Linked DNA regions of Homo sapiens: all the other regions are linked to region 3. Evidence: promoter capture Hi-C in human tissues and cell types (Jung and others, 2019). All regions are on one chromosome and are shown on one strand. The core of a region is centred on a gene start or on the middle of the fragment in contact, and the rest is flanking DNA. Distances in the headings are between cores, read along the strand shown. Region 1 holds the start of ZBTB7A (zinc finger and BTB domain containing 7A). Region 2 holds the start of MAP2K2 (mitogen-activated protein kinase kinase 2). Region 3 holds the start of CACTIN (cactin, spliceosome C complex subunit). Region 4 holds the start of NFIC (nuclear factor I C). Region 5 has its middle 9.8 kb from the start of PIAS4.

Evidence for each region. The method cuts DNA at HindIII sites, captures the fragments that hold promoters and counts their contacts. A contact is called where the count stands out against the background at its distance.
Region 1: a contact is called between the fragment with the promoter of ZBTB7A here and the fragment with the promoter of CACTIN in region 3, in 1 of the 25 tissues and cell types used here (dorsolateral prefrontal cortex).
Region 2: a contact is called between the fragment with the promoter of MAP2K2 here and the fragment with the promoter of CACTIN in region 3, in 1 of the 25 tissues and cell types used here (lymphoblastoid cells).
Region 4: the fragment with the promoter of NFIC here is called in contact with the fragment with the promoter of CACTIN in region 3 in 3 of the 25 tissues and cell types used here (dorsolateral prefrontal cortex, liver and lymphoblastoid cells).
Region 5: a fragment that was not itself captured here is called in contact with the fragment with the promoter of CACTIN in region 3 in 2 of the 25 tissues and cell types used here (heart right ventricle and stomach).

The regions. Positions count from the first base shown.
Region 1 is chr19:4,065,463-4,068,162 of GRCh38, forward strand. It overlaps ZBTB7A (zinc finger and BTB domain containing 7A), which reads right to left and starts at 1,437. Exons shown (of 3, transcript NM_015898.4): 1 at 1,220-1,437. RefSeq lists silencers at 1-737, 1,218-1,417, 1,428-1,477, 1,518-1,577, 1,788-1,897 and 1 more. The HindIII fragment of the contact is 23,363 bases long and covers 1-2,700 here.
Region 2 is chr19:4,122,845-4,125,544 of GRCh38, forward strand. MAP2K2 (mitogen-activated protein kinase kinase 2) reads right to left here and starts at 1,278. Exons shown (of 11, transcript NM_030662.4): 1 at 940-1,278. The coding sequence starts at 1,031. RefSeq lists silencers at 871-1,120, 1,311-1,430. The HindIII fragment of the contact is 9,633 bases long and covers 1-2,700 here.
Region 3 is chr19:3,625,488-3,628,187 of GRCh38, forward strand. It overlaps CACTIN (cactin, spliceosome C complex subunit), which reads right to left and starts at 1,303. Exons shown (of 10, transcript NM_001080543.2): 1 at 1,109-1,303. The coding sequence starts at 1,275. RefSeq lists enhancers at 1-253, 254-815, 816-1,377, 1,267-1,636. The HindIII fragment of the contact is 17,013 bases long and covers 1-2,700 here.
Region 4 is chr19:3,365,137-3,367,836 of GRCh38, forward strand. It overlaps NFIC (nuclear factor I C), which reads left to right and starts at 1,447. Exons shown (of 11, transcript NM_001245002.2): 1 at 1,447-1,530. The coding sequence starts at 1,501. RefSeq lists silencers at 1,076-1,165, 1,616-1,765, 2,056-2,455. The HindIII fragment of the contact is 27,364 bases long and covers 1-2,700 here.
Region 5 is chr19:3,996,547-3,999,246 of GRCh38, forward strand. No RefSeq gene overlaps it. Among named protein-coding and RNA genes, the nearest start is that of PIAS4, 9.8 kb to the right of the region's middle. RefSeq lists an enhancer at 2,293-2,700. The HindIII fragment of the contact is 5,265 bases long and covers 1-2,700 here.

The sequences.
Region 1 (2,700 bases), core at 187-2,686, 440 kb after region 3:
CCCGGCGGCGGCGGTGGCGGCGGCTGCGGCTGGGCTGGCTCCCTCCGAGGGGCCGGGAGGCGGCAGTGAGCCTGGCCCCGCGCCACCCCCCGCCGCCGGCGGCCAATCCCCACCCGGGCTGGGGGGAGGGCGATGCAAATTACCCCGGATCTGGGTCCGCCCGCCCGCCTCCCCCACGCCCGGGCCCGGCCTGCGCTAGGCCGCGCATCCCCGGGCTCGCCTGCACCGCGCGGCCGCCCGGGCCGCCGCCCTCCCCGGGGAGCGCGGGGAGGGTGACCCCCCCCCCACGGGCGGGGGGCCGAGGGGAGGGGGGCTGGGGACGGTTACACAACCAGGCGGGGAGGGGCCCCGGGGCGGGGAGGGGGCCGGCCCGCGGGCCGCGCAGCCGGAAGCCGGGACCGCCACCGGCCCCCGGCGAGGGGAGCCCGGCTCCAGGCCCCGCCCCCTGGCGGGCTGGCCCCGCCCCCGCGCCGCGCCGCGCGATCGGCCCGCGCCCATTGGCTCTCCGGCCCGCCGCTCACCGCCCCTCCTCCGCACCGCCCCTACCCGCAGGCCGCGGCGGGCTGTCGGCGCGGGGCACCCTGGGACTTGTAGTCCAAGCCGCTTGCCACCTGCCGGCTGCAAACGGCGGAGGGACTACGAAGCCCAGAGGTCCCTGCGGCCCTGCCCGCCCACCCGGACACCCCACCCCTTCCCCCTCCTTTCCGAAGCCCCCCTCCCTGTTTTTTCAGCCCCCTCCCCCCCATCCCCCATGGAGCTCAATCCTGGCCAACTCCAACGTATGCACGCAGCACCGAATAGGCCCCCGGGGGGCGAGAGCGCCCCTCGTCTTCAGCTGGAAACTTAGCAGGCGACGCGCCCCCCTATCTCCCCACGCCGGCTCCCCCCACCCTCAATGCAGCCCTGCTTCCCCTCCCCCGCTCCCCGCGCGCCTGGGAGCCCCGAAAAGCCATGCACCCGGGTTGGGGGGGGCTGGCGCACAAGCTCATGCACTTAGCCCCCAATCCCCCCTTCCCGGGCGGCGCCCCCTCCCCGCGCTCGGGATCCAGGGCGCCTCCAGCCTCCGGGCAGCTGCCAACCACCCCTTCCTCTGAAACTTGGGGGAACGTCCCCGGCTCCCCGGATCTCCCCTTCCCGAGGGGGCAGCGGTGGCCGCAGCGACCCCCGCCCGTCCCCGCCCTGCACCCCGTGCCGGGGGCCGCGCCGGGCGCTGACTTACCTCGCGGGGCCGGGCCGGGGCGCGCGGGGCCGGGGCCCGAAGTTGGGACTGGGCTCCCTCGGCCGCTCGCCTCCGGGGTCCGCGGCGCTCGCTCTGCCCGCGTCGCGCTGCCCTGGTCGCTCCCTCGCGCGGCGGCGGCGGCGTCACTGCCCCTACAGTAACTGTACAGTACAGCCAAAGCCCCGTATGATGCTCGCGACTCCCTTCCTGGTTTCTCCGAGGGCAAGAGGGGTCCTCCCTTGTCTTAAAGGTGCCGCAGCCGCCGGCCCCCCCACGCCCAGCCCGCCCCCCCCAGCCTGGCCTCGGAGGCCAGAACAGGCTCGGCAGGTCCCCTCTTGCCACGTCTCTGCCCTCCCGTGGGGCTTCGCCCGCTGCGCCGGGGAGACCGGGCTGTTATTAGGTTTTGTCAAGTCGGGGGGGGGGGTCCGGCCCGCCCCGGCGCGCCCCCCCGCCTCTGACCTCTCCGCCCCGCCGCGCGGCGCCGTGCCAGCTTGCCAGCTTATCTGGCCCCAGAGCTCCCCGGGGCGCGGGGGGAGCGGGCCCCCCGGGGTGGAGGGGGGGTGGGGGCCTCCAGATAAACAGGCCCCCAGCCTCTGCGCAGGGGCGGGGTGCGGGGGGGCGCGGGCTGTGCCCCCGACGCCCGGGGCGTGGCAGGATGGCAGCGGGGGCGGGGAGCGCGGTGCGCACAGCGAGGAGCGACGCGGGCGTGTGGGTCGCGCGGCCTGGGCTGCCGGGGGTGGGTTGGGGGTGAGGCGGTGGGGATCCCCCCGCAAGGCCAGGCCCTGGGCCTCCCCGGGCCTCAGTGGGACTTGCCGCGCCAGGGACCCCGGGGGGTGGCCTTGCCAAGGACAGCCCGGGTCCGCGGGGCTCCCGGGTCCCTAAATGAAACCACCAACCTGCCCTCCCGCGATTATATAAAGGAGTCGCCTCCACCCCGCTGCGCTAGGGGCGTCAGCGGGGGAAGGGGTTGGCGAGGGGCGGGGAGGGCGGTTGTTTTCCCGGCTTCGCGAGTTCCCCCACCCGGCTGCGGGCCGCGGGGCGGGACGGGGACCGGGCCCTGGACGCCTGGTCCGCGCGGGCCGCTCCTTGGCACAAGGGGGTCTGCATGGCTCGCGAGGGGCGGAGGTGGGGAGTGGGGAGGCGTTGGTTCAGCGCGACTTTTTTTTTTCCCCTGTCCGTTTCTCCCACTTCCTCCCCGGTCGTGGGAGAGGTCCGGCGGGGGACAGGGAAGGGGGAGCAGGGCACGAGTGGTGAGAACGTCCTGGCCCGGCCCGGGGAGGGCTGGCTGGTGCGACCGCGCGCCTGGGGGGGGGGGGGAGGGCTCCAGGACTCAGTTTCCCCTTCCTCATTCCTCCAGACAGAGAGAGTACTGACAGCTGCTTTAGCTGCCGTTTAGTGAGCGCTTATCCAGTGGGTGACCCTGTTCCGGGGCTCACTGTGCCTTCATTCTAACACCTAATCCCAGGGTCATTATTATGTTT
Region 2 (2,700 bases), core at 28-2,527, 500 kb after region 3:
CTCCCTTGGCCCTATCTCATTATTGAGGGACCCTTACCCCGTCTTTTCCTACCAGGGACCCTACCCCATCTCAGTCTCATTACTCAGGGACCCCTCACCCCATCCTCTCCCCTCTGGAGCCCCCTTGCCCAGATTTCCTCCTCAGGGGCTGCCTGACCTCCCCACACCCCATCCTCTCCTCTCAGGAATGCCCTGCACCCCGATTTCCCTACTCAGGGTCTCCCCTCACCCTCATCTCATGACTACGGCAACCTTTACTCCGTCCTTTCCTCTTAGGAACTCTTCACCCTCATTTCACTACTCAAGGACCCCACACTGTGTTCTCTCCTCTTAGAGATACCCCTCACCCCGATCTCACTGCTTGGGGAGCCTCATCCTGTTCTCTCCTTGGGGACACCCCTCATTCCGATTTTCCTACTGAGGGACTCCCCTCACCCCAGCTTCACTTTTCAGAAGCCCCACACCCCATCTTCTGCACTGCAGGGACCTCCCCTCACTCAACCTCGCTGCTCAGGGACCCCTGTCCCCATCCTCTCCTCTTAGAGACATCCTTCACCCCAACTTCACTACTCAGAGACTCCCGTTATCCCAATTCCACTCTTCAGGAACCCCACACCCCATCTTTTCCACCACAAGGACCTCCCCTCGCCCAATCTCACTGCTCAAAGACCCCCCTGCCCCGTGCACCCTTCGCCCCGTCCTCCGAGGGCCCCCTGCCCCGTCCTCCCCCGAGGGCCCCCTGCCCCGTCCTCCCCCGAGGGTCCCCTGCCCTGTCCTCCCCTCGAGAACCCCCTGCCCCGTGCACCACTCACCCCGTCCTCCCCCGTGACCCCCCTGCCTCGTGCACTCCTCGCGAACCCCCGTCCCCTCGCCCCGTCCTTCCCCGAGGGCTCCCTGCCCCGTGCACCCCAAGCCTCCGGCTGACCCCTGCCCACTCACTCGGAGGCGCCCTCGCTGGTAGGGGATGGGCCCTCGGCGATGGTAGGGTTGATGGTGAGCGCCGGCAGCACCGGCTTCCTCCGGGCCAGCATCGGGGCTCCGCGGGCCGGCGGCGGCGGCGCCTCTAGCCGGGGCCCATAGGGGGCGGGCCGGGAGCGGTCGGCGCCTACGCGAGCCCGGGGCTGCGGCCGCGGCCCAGGCCGGCGTCGGGGCGGCCGAGGGCGGGCGGCGCTGCGGGCCTGGGCCGAGGGTAGCCGAGGGGCGCTGGGGCTGAGGCGAGCGAGCCGCTACCGCTGCCGAGGCCCGAAGAAGGCTGACGCCGCAGCCCGAGTCCGAGAGGCAGGGGGAGGGGAGGGGCGGCCACAAGATCGCGGACCGGCTTCTCGCGATAACGGGATCGGGAGCCGCGATGGACCCCACCCCCAGCCGCCGCGCCTGCGCAGCAGCACAAGGCCGCCTTTCGGAGGGGAAAGGGGCGGAGACCGACGCGAGGCGGTGCCGGGACCGGGCGCCCTCGCTTGCCTTACCACGGCGCGTGTGCCCAAGCGCTTGGGGCATGAGGCGCGGGAGCAGGGGAGGAGACGGAGGGATGAAGGCTGGGGTGATGGTCGTGCACAGGTGGGCAGGGTAGCCAGACTCCTGAGAGCCTGTGGTGCCCCAGGCTGGGGCTGAGAGAACCCGTAAGACCCCAGAACAGTGGACGAGACCCACCCAGAGTCCATTTAATCTTTTTGGCAAGCGTGGACACACGCCCCTAGCCCCCACCGCCTTAGAGTGTCAGTTACTCCCCCTCCTTCATCAGAACAAGGCCACTCTAAAACATTTTTAAAATTTATTTTAATTGACAAATAAAATTGCATATATTACTATGCGCATGTTGAAACATTTTTATTATAAAATACACATAACATAAAACTTGTCATTTTAACCATTTCTAAATGCACAGCTCAGCGGCATTAAGCAACCACCACCACCACCATCTCCAGAATTTTCTCATCTTCCGAAACTGAAACACTGTCCCCTATGAAACCTCACTCCCTATCCCCCTCCCCAGCCCCTGGAACCCAACGTCGTACTTCCTGTGAATCTGATGATTCTAGGGACTTCATATGAGTAGGATCACACAGGTTTTGTCCCTTTGTGGCTGGCATATTTCACTGAGGGCCACGTCCTCAAGGTGCCTGTTGTAGCTGTGTTAGATCCACGTTGTAACCTGTGTTAGAATTTACCCACTTGACTACTCCGGGCATACTTCCAATCGGGTAGCCCTGCTCCAAAAAAGAGCAGAAAAAAAAAAAAAAAGAAAAATTTCCCTTTTTTTTTTTTTGAGACGGAGTCTCGCTCTGTCACCCAGGCTGGAGTGCAGTGGTGCGATCTCGGCCCACTGCAAACTCTGCCTCCCGGGTTCACGCCATTCTCCTGCCTCAGCCTCCCGAGTAGCTGGGACTACAGGTGCCCACCACCATGCCCGGCTAATTTTTTTGTATTTTTAGTAGAGACGGGGTTTCACCGTGTTAGCCAGGATGGTCTCCATCTCCTGACCTCGTGATCCACCCGCCTCGATCTCCCAAAGTGCTGGGATTACAGGCGTGAGCCACCGCACCCAGTCAGGATTTTCCTCCTTTTTAAGGCTGAATAATATTCTATTGTGTGCATGGACTATATTTTGCTTATCCATTTATCTGCCACTAGACACTTCGGTGAATCGTGCCGCTATGAACACAGATGTACAAATATCTGTTTGAGTCCTTGCCTTGAGTT
Region 3 (2,700 bases), core at 53-2,552:
GGGAGGCCGAGGCGGGCAGATCACTTGAGGCCAGGAGTTCAAGACCTGCCTGGCCAATATGGAGAAATCCCAGCTCTACGAAAAAATTCAAAAATTAGCTGGGTGTGGCAACAAGCACCTGTAACCCCAGCTACCGGGGAGGCTGAGGCTGAAGAATCGCTTGAACCCAGGAGGCAGAGGTAACAGCCGAGATCGTGCCACTGCACCCCAGCCTGGGCGACAGAGCAAGACTCCGTCTCAAAAACAAACAAACAAAAAAACCAACAACCGATGAGTGAACTTGGCCCAGAGCGGGGCAAGACTGGCCTGAGTGTCAGCCACGAAGGGGCTGAGCCAGCACTGGGGCCCCGGTCTGGGAATCAGTCCCTGTCCCCATTTTGGTTTCTCTGTACTGGAGCCGGCTCAAGGCAAATCCGACCAAGTGCCCCATCTCCAGAAGAAAAGGACCATGGGGAAGCTGAGATTCAGGCACTAGGAATCAGCTGTGAGTCCTGCCAGCTGACACCGAGTCTTTTTCCCTCCCACAGCCCACCTCCATTAGCAAATGTTGTCTCCTCTACTTCCAGAATCCCTCTGAAATCTACGCACTTTGCCCGCTGTGGTTGACTACAGCCTCCCTCCCATCGAGACTGCCATCATCTACTGTCTGGACAATTGTGCCGTCCTACTCTGATGCCGCTCCTGCCTACCCCGCTCCATCCCTTCTCCACCTCAAAGCCAGAAAGTATGCAGAGTTAAGTCAGTCCACGTCACTCCCCTACCCAAACTCCTCTCAAGACTCTCCATTTCCCTCCGACTAATAGCCAAGATCTAATGTGCTGAGCACACAGGGCTCGATATGATATGATCTGATCTCTCGTTACCTCCCCGCCGCCTCGCTCACCCGGCTCCGGGCTGTCCCTCCAACCGCCCGGTCCCCTGCCTGGAACGCCTCTCGCCTTCCTTCCGCTGCCAGGTTAATTCCAACCGGTGGTCAATTGTCCCCTTCTCTAGGAAGCCCTCCCCGAGTAAGTCGGGGGTTTCCCGGTTCCCCGGGATCTCCAACCCTCGGTCGGGCGCTCCTGAGGTAGGAGCCGGATCCCCAGCGCTGCTCCCGCAGCGACCCCACCTGCGCTCCCGGCTCCGCCGCCTCCGTCTGCGCCGTCCCTCGTCCTCCCGGCGCCGTCGGTTTCGCCGCCCATGGCTCCTGCTCCGACTTCGGCTCCCGCTCTGACTCTGCCGCCTTCGGCCCCGGCGACCCGCGGACCGCGAGCGCGAGCGTGTGTCCCGACCCATCGGCTGGGCCAGTGGCCGCGGCACCAACACCAATAGCCGAAGCCTGCGCTGGGGGCCTTCCTCGCCCACGGCGCTCTCCAGGCTGCCCCGTTTGCGCCTGAGCCGGGAAAGAGCAACCCATCCCGTCGCCCCAGCCCGCAAGGACTCCGACACCCCAGACTTTCCACTACGTCTGCAAATGTGGACCGCGTGATTGACTCCAGTGGGATTGTTGCCTCCAGGGTGGCGGAGTCTCCTTTCAGGCAGTGCTGGAGGCAGCCCTAGGCGGGTCCCCACGCCTCAGGGGGCCTGAGAAACTGTGGGCGGGGCAAGGGCAAACTAGGAACCTTGTGCAGGGAGGGGCCTGCCGAGGCGAGACCAATAAGAAGCGGGTCTAGGTCGGAAGTAGCGCTTCATTGGCGTGGCCAGGGGCGTGGCCGAGGAGAGGCGTGTCCGGGGAGCGAGGTCCCCGAAAGGCGAGGAACCGGGAAGGTGTTAGGTGCCAGGCAGCTCCAGAGGGCAGAGGGCGGGCGCGGGGACAGAAACTGAAAAGCCTTCTTATGAGAGTCATCGTTATGCTCCACCACCTGCCAATGAACACCTATGTATTTTGGGAGTTAAGCTTTAAAAAAAAACAAAAACTTTGATAACTCCCTGTATTCCCCCATCAACCCATTTTAGAGACGGGGAAACTGAGGCTCAGAGAGGGAAAGTCACTCTTAACACTTGCCTTCTCAACCCAGGCTGCCCAGCTTTGTGGTGTGGGTGCTGGGGACCCGTGGGAGGGTTGTGAGCAGGGTTTGGGGGACTTGCTGTTGAAACAAGTTTGGCGTGGGAGGACGGACTTCAGGGGCAAGGCTGGAGGCCAGAGACCTAGAAGACGCTGATGTCCCATCCTGAGCTCCCCTAGCCCATGGTGGCTGCTACCACCACCCCGTGCAGTTCTAACCACTCGGGGCTGGGAAGGCCTGTTTATGGAGGATGATAGTAATTTAAGCTAACTTTTAAAATATTTATCTTGGCCGGGCACGGTGGCTCACGCCTGTAACCCCAGCACTTTGAGAGGCCGAGGCGGGCGGATCACCTGAGGTCGGGAGTTCAAGACCAGCCTGGCCAATATGGTGAAACCCTATCTCTACTAAATAATACAAAAATTAGCCGGGTGTGGTGGCATGCACCTGTGATCCCAGCTACTTGGGAGGTTGAGGCAGGGAGAATTGCTTGAACCTGGGAGGCGGAGGTCGCAGTGAGCCGAGATCGTGCCACTGCGCTATGGCCTCGGCGATAGAGCAAGACTCCGTCTCAAAAAAAAAAAGAAAATTAAAATGTTTATCTTGAGTGGGGTGCAGTGGCTCATGCCTGTAATCCCAACACTTTGGGAGGCCGTGGCAGGTGGATCTTGAGGTCAGGAGTTCGAGACCAGCCTGTCCAACATGGCGAAACCCC
Region 4 (2,700 bases), core at 197-2,696, 260 kb before region 3:
TCCGTTCTCTGGGCCTCAGTTTCCTCTCCTGTAATGCCTGAGGATAATGGGTGCTGGTATCTTCTGCGCCCCTGGGCCTGGGGCACCTGCCCCAGCTTGGTGAGAGGGTATCATTTGTCCTTGGGAAGCTCAGAGAGATGAGGTGAAATGGCCAAGCTTTCTAAGAATGTGTCTTTAGTGAACATTTGACCCAAGGTCAAGGCTCTGCTAAGGTCATTGTCCTTATCCCCAGCAATCCCACAGGATGGGCATCTTTAAGCCACTTTATAGGGGAGAACCCTTGGGATGGGAATGAGAGACACAGCAGCCTCTGAGCTAGCCTGGGAGGATCCAGGGAGTGAACCGGGGGAGGGTTGGGGCCCTGTCATCAGATGCCCTGGGGGCTCAGACGGAGGCAGGCCAGGTCTCTGCCCTGTTACGTCTAGAAGGAGAACAGAATGTGGGCTCCAGGTCCAGATGGCCTGGCTCCAAGCCACACTTGCCATACCTCAGTCTTGAGATCTGTGAAAAGGGCACACCCCTGAGGCAGGTGGAAATTATTGGATACCCAGGGGGAGGCTGCAAGGGTTTATCTGGCCAGCTGGAGATCCCGCCTGGACACCGTCCTCCTGGGGTGCTGGAGAGACACACAGGCGAGGCCACCCCTCCCCTGCCCCTTGGGTGCTGGGTGAAGAGAGCAAATTCTGGAGCCTCCCGTGTTAGCCTGGGCCCTTCTGGCCAAGGAAGGGACAGCTGCACACAAGCCCCTCTAGCTGGGGACCCGCAGCCCCTGCCTGGCTCTGGGGGGAGAAGGGAGCCAGGGTGCTGTGGGACCAGCTCACCGTGCACCCAGGGTCGTACATCTTTAAGGGGAAAGAGGCGCGCTGGCCGGCCTCTGCGCACGTCACTTCTTCATTCCTTCCCTCCCCCCTGGCTCTTTCCTCCAACTTCCCGGCCAGCTCGGGGGTGATGGGGGGGTGGGGAGGGGGGGCCTTAAAAATCCACCCCTGGCCCCTCAATGTCCAGAAACAACCCTGTCCCCCCTCTCCGCTTGATCCGAATTGGGGTCGCCCTGCAGTCCTGGGGTCCTGGTCTAGTGCCCTGGGGCATTGCGTAAATACGGGAGGAGCGGGGGGGTCCTGAGACGTCGGGGGAGGCTCTCCTTTCTCGCTCGCGCCCTTTTTTCCCTCGTTTCTTTGAAAGTTGGGTGTTGAGAAGTGGGAGGTTCGGGGTGGGAGGGGGAGGGTGTCAGAGGGTAGAGAGAGAGACAGAGAGACAGAGACGGGGGAGAGAGGAAGAGAGAGACGGAGGGAGAGAGGGACAGAGAGCGAGGCGGGCGGCGCGAGAGAGGGAGAGCAGGAGGGAGGAGGAGGGAGACCGAGGGAGGAGGCGGCGAGGAGAGCGCGCCGGCCGCGGGGCGGGGGGGGGGGTTGGGGGGGGCGGGGGGGTGGTTTGGAAAAATGACTCAGTAAGTTCAGCGCGCCCGCTCCGGCCGGCCCTGCGCCTCCCGCCGCGCCCGGGATGTATTCGTCCCCGCTCTGCCTCACCCAGGTACGGTCCTCGCCCGGCCCCCCGCCGGCGCCCCCGCGCCCCCCGCATCCCAGCCCCGGAGTTTTGAAGCAGGAGGAGGCGGGACGAAAAAGGCGCGCGTCCCTCCCGCCATCCCTGCCCGGGATGCCCCCCGCGCCGAGGGCTGGGGTCCGGTGGGGGGATGGGTCAGGCTGGGGTACCCCCCCCACACCCTTACCTACCGCGGACCCCCTACGCGGGACTCCCGCCCAGCACCCCCAACCCCGACTCTCGGGACCTCTCCCGGATGTGGGGCTTGGTCTGCAGATTTGCGTCCCCCCCCCACACACCGACGCACTCCGCACCCCCGCCCCGACACTCGGAAAGGTCGGGGTGGGGGCTGGCCCCCCTCCAGCAAGGGCTCTGCGGGAAGCCCCCCGCCTGCCTCTGAGAGGAATCTAGGGGGTCGTGATTGGACCCTGGGTCTCCCCAGCTGGAGAGAAAGGGACCTCTCATGTGTTTTCCCCGTGTCCCCCCACCAAGGTTGTGCGGGCCGCCCTGGCCCTCGGTCGCCTTTCCCTCGTTATTGGCCCACGTGTGCATGGAGGGGGAGGGGGCAGGAGAAGTTGGAGGCCCAGGAGGGGGAAGGGTGCTCCGGCGGCCCGGCTGGGTCCCCCCTCCTTTGCAAGCCCCCCAGCACCGTCCCGGTATTTTCGCTGCATCGATTCTGGATTCTGGATTCTGGATTCTGGAGCCGCCGCCGGGAGGAGCGGGAGGCCCGGCGCTCCGGGTCTGGCCCGGGCACTGCGGCGCTGCGGACGCCCTCGCCAGCCCGGCACCTGCCCCGTCCCCTCCCCCTCCCCCTCCCCCTCCCGTAGCCTCTCACCCCTGGCCGCACTCCCAGACTGCCCCGGGGCCGAGCCTTGTGCAATGGCCGAGGGGGTGTGTGGGGAGGGGGCGGCTCCCCCCGGGGACTCCTTCCAGCCCAGGCTCCCGGGGACCCCGAGGTCTGCAAGTTCCGTTTTCTAGACCGCTGCTTTCCTCCTTACGCAGTGTGTCTTTAGGCTGGAGAGGTTCTGGCCTCAGTTTCCCCTGAAGTGAGGTGCGGCTAAGGCCGGTTCTGGAGAGGGGACAGTATGGCGGGCAAACTGTAAAGTCCCGGCACGTGGGGGGTGCGATTCCAGCGAGGGCCAGGCCCGTCTTAAGAAGCAC
Region 5 (2,700 bases), core at 24-2,523, 370 kb after region 3:
TGCCCAGGCTGGAGTGCAGCAGCATGATCTCAGCTCACTGCAACCTCTGCCTCTCGGGTTAAAGCGATTCTCCTGTCTCAGCCTCCTGAGTAGCTGGAATTACAGGTGTGTGCCACTATGCCCGGCTAATTTTTGTATTTTTAGTGGAGACAGGGGTTTCACCATGTTGCGTGGGCTGGTCTCAAACTTCTGACCTCAGGTGATCCTCCTGCCTCGGCCTCCCAAAATGCTGGGATTACAGGAGTGAGCCACTGTGCCTGGCCTACAATCTGTTTTAGAGCCAGAAAATGCAATCAATTGTGATAATACATTGCTATGTTTTGAAATACATATATACAAACGTGCACACAACTTTATTTAAATTTAAGATGCTTTTAATATTCAGCTAACACCAAATTCACAATTTGATACTTTTTTTTTTTGGTAAAGATGGAGTCTCCTTCTGTCACCGAGGCTGGAGTGCAGTGTCCTCATCTCGGCTCACTGCAACCTCTGTCTCCCAGGTTCAAGAGATTCTCCTGCCTCAGCATCCTGAGTAGCTGGGATTACAGGTGCGTGCCACCACGCCCCAGTAATTTTTTTTGTATTTCTAGTAGAGACAGGGTTTCACCATGTTGGCCAGGCTGGTCTCAAACTCCTGACCTCATGATCCACCCGCCTCGGCCTCCTAAAGTGCTGGGATTACAAGCTTGAGCTACCGCGCCCAGCTCATAGGTATTTTTGCCCAGGAAACAACTCCATTTACTTAAGTGCAAAACGGGAGTAACTATCTGTATCTATATCTACCTCTCTCCATCTATCTCTATGTATCTTACATAACAGTGGAGGTGGTTTGTGAATTTTGTCAGAATTGCAAAGGATCTGATTTAGAACTGATGAATTCTGTCCTAAAACAGGCTGTAAAGCTTTAAATTGGTCGTGTGGGGATTTTCCATAGCCTCCCTCTCCTCTTTCTTGTCTGTCTACCTCCCATCAGTGTCTGAACATGTTCTGTATTTAGCCTTTTTTTTTTTTTTTGAGATGGAGTCTCCCTCTGTTGCCCAGGCTGGAGTACAGTGGTGCCATCTCGGCTCACTGCAAGCTCCACCTTCCGGGTTCAAGTGACTCTCCTGCCTCAGCCTCCCAAGTAGCTGGGACTACAGGCGTGTGCCACCACGCCCAGCTAAATTTTTATTTTTGGTAGAGATGGGTTTTCACCATCTTGGCCAGGCTGGTCTCGAACTCTGGGCCTCAGGTGATCCGCCCATGTCAGCCTCCCAAAGTGCTGGGATTACAGGCGTGACCCACCACGCCGGGACCTTTAATTAGCTTTTGATTTTGTTTGTTGTTGATCTCCCTCCTGGAATGCCAGTTCCACGAGGACAGGGAATTTTGCCTGTTGTGGTCACCACTGTGTCTGAGCATCTCTAACAAAGACTAGCAAGCTACAGCCCTCAGCCCTAATCTTTTTTTTTTTTTTTTTTTGAGTCTCGCTCTGTAACCAGGCTGGAGTTCAGTGGCACAATCTCGGCTCACTGCAAGCTCCGCCTCCCGGGTTCACGCCGTTTTCCTGCCTCAGCCTCCCGAGTAGCTGGGACTACAGGCGCCCGCCACCATGCCCGGCTAATTTTTTGTATTTTTAGTAGAGACGGGGTTTCACCGTGTTAGCCAGGATGGTCTCGATCTCCTGATCTCGTGATCTGCCCGCCTCGGCCTCCCAAAGTGCTGGGATTACAGGCATGAGCCACTGCGCCCAGCGTATTATTATTATTATTATTATTATTATTACTTTTGAGACAGAGTCTCTCTCTGTCACCCAGGCTGGAGTGCAGTGACACAATCACGGTTCACTGCTGCCTGGAACTCCTGGGCTCAAGCCATCCACCTGAGTAGGTAAGACTGTAGGCGTGCACCACCATGCCTACTTAATTTTTTATTTTTTGCAGAGAGAGGATCTCATTATGTTGCTCAGTCTGGTGTAGAAATCCTGTGTTCAAGCAGTCCTCCTGCCTGGATCTCCAAAAGTTCTGGGATTACACACCCGACCCACAGCACCCGGCCTTCTTTCTCTTTTAAATGTTCAAACAAAAGCATAATAATAACATGACATGTGAAAATACGTAAGATTGAAATTTCTGTGTTTATGAAGTTCTACTAGCATACAGGCCTGGCTCAGTGGTTCACACCCGTAATCCCAGCATTTTGGGAGGTCCAGGAGGGCAGATCACTCGAGGTCAGGAGTTCAAGACCAGCCTGGCCGGGGGCAGCCCCCGCCCGGCCAGCTGCCCCGTCCGGAAGGGAGGTGGGGGGCAGCCCCCGCCCGGCCAGCCGCCCCGTCCGAGAGGTGGGGGGCGTCTCTGCCCGGCCGCCCCGTCTGGGAAGTGAGGAGCCCCTCTGCCCGGCCGCCACCCCGTCTGGGAGGTGTACCCAGCAGCTCATTGAGAGCAGACCATGATGACGATGGCGGTTTTGTCGAATAGAAAAAGGGGGAAATGTGGGGAAAAGAAAGAGAGGTCAGATTGTTACGCTGTCTGTGTGGAAAGAAGTGGACATAGGAGACTCCATTTTGTTCTGTACTGAGAAAAATTCTTCTGCCTTGGGATGCTGTTAATCTATAACCTTACCCCCAACCCCGTGCTGAAACATGTGCTGTGTCCACTCAGGGTTAAATGGATTAAGGGCGGTGCAAGATGTGCTTTGTTAAACAGATGCTAGAAGGCA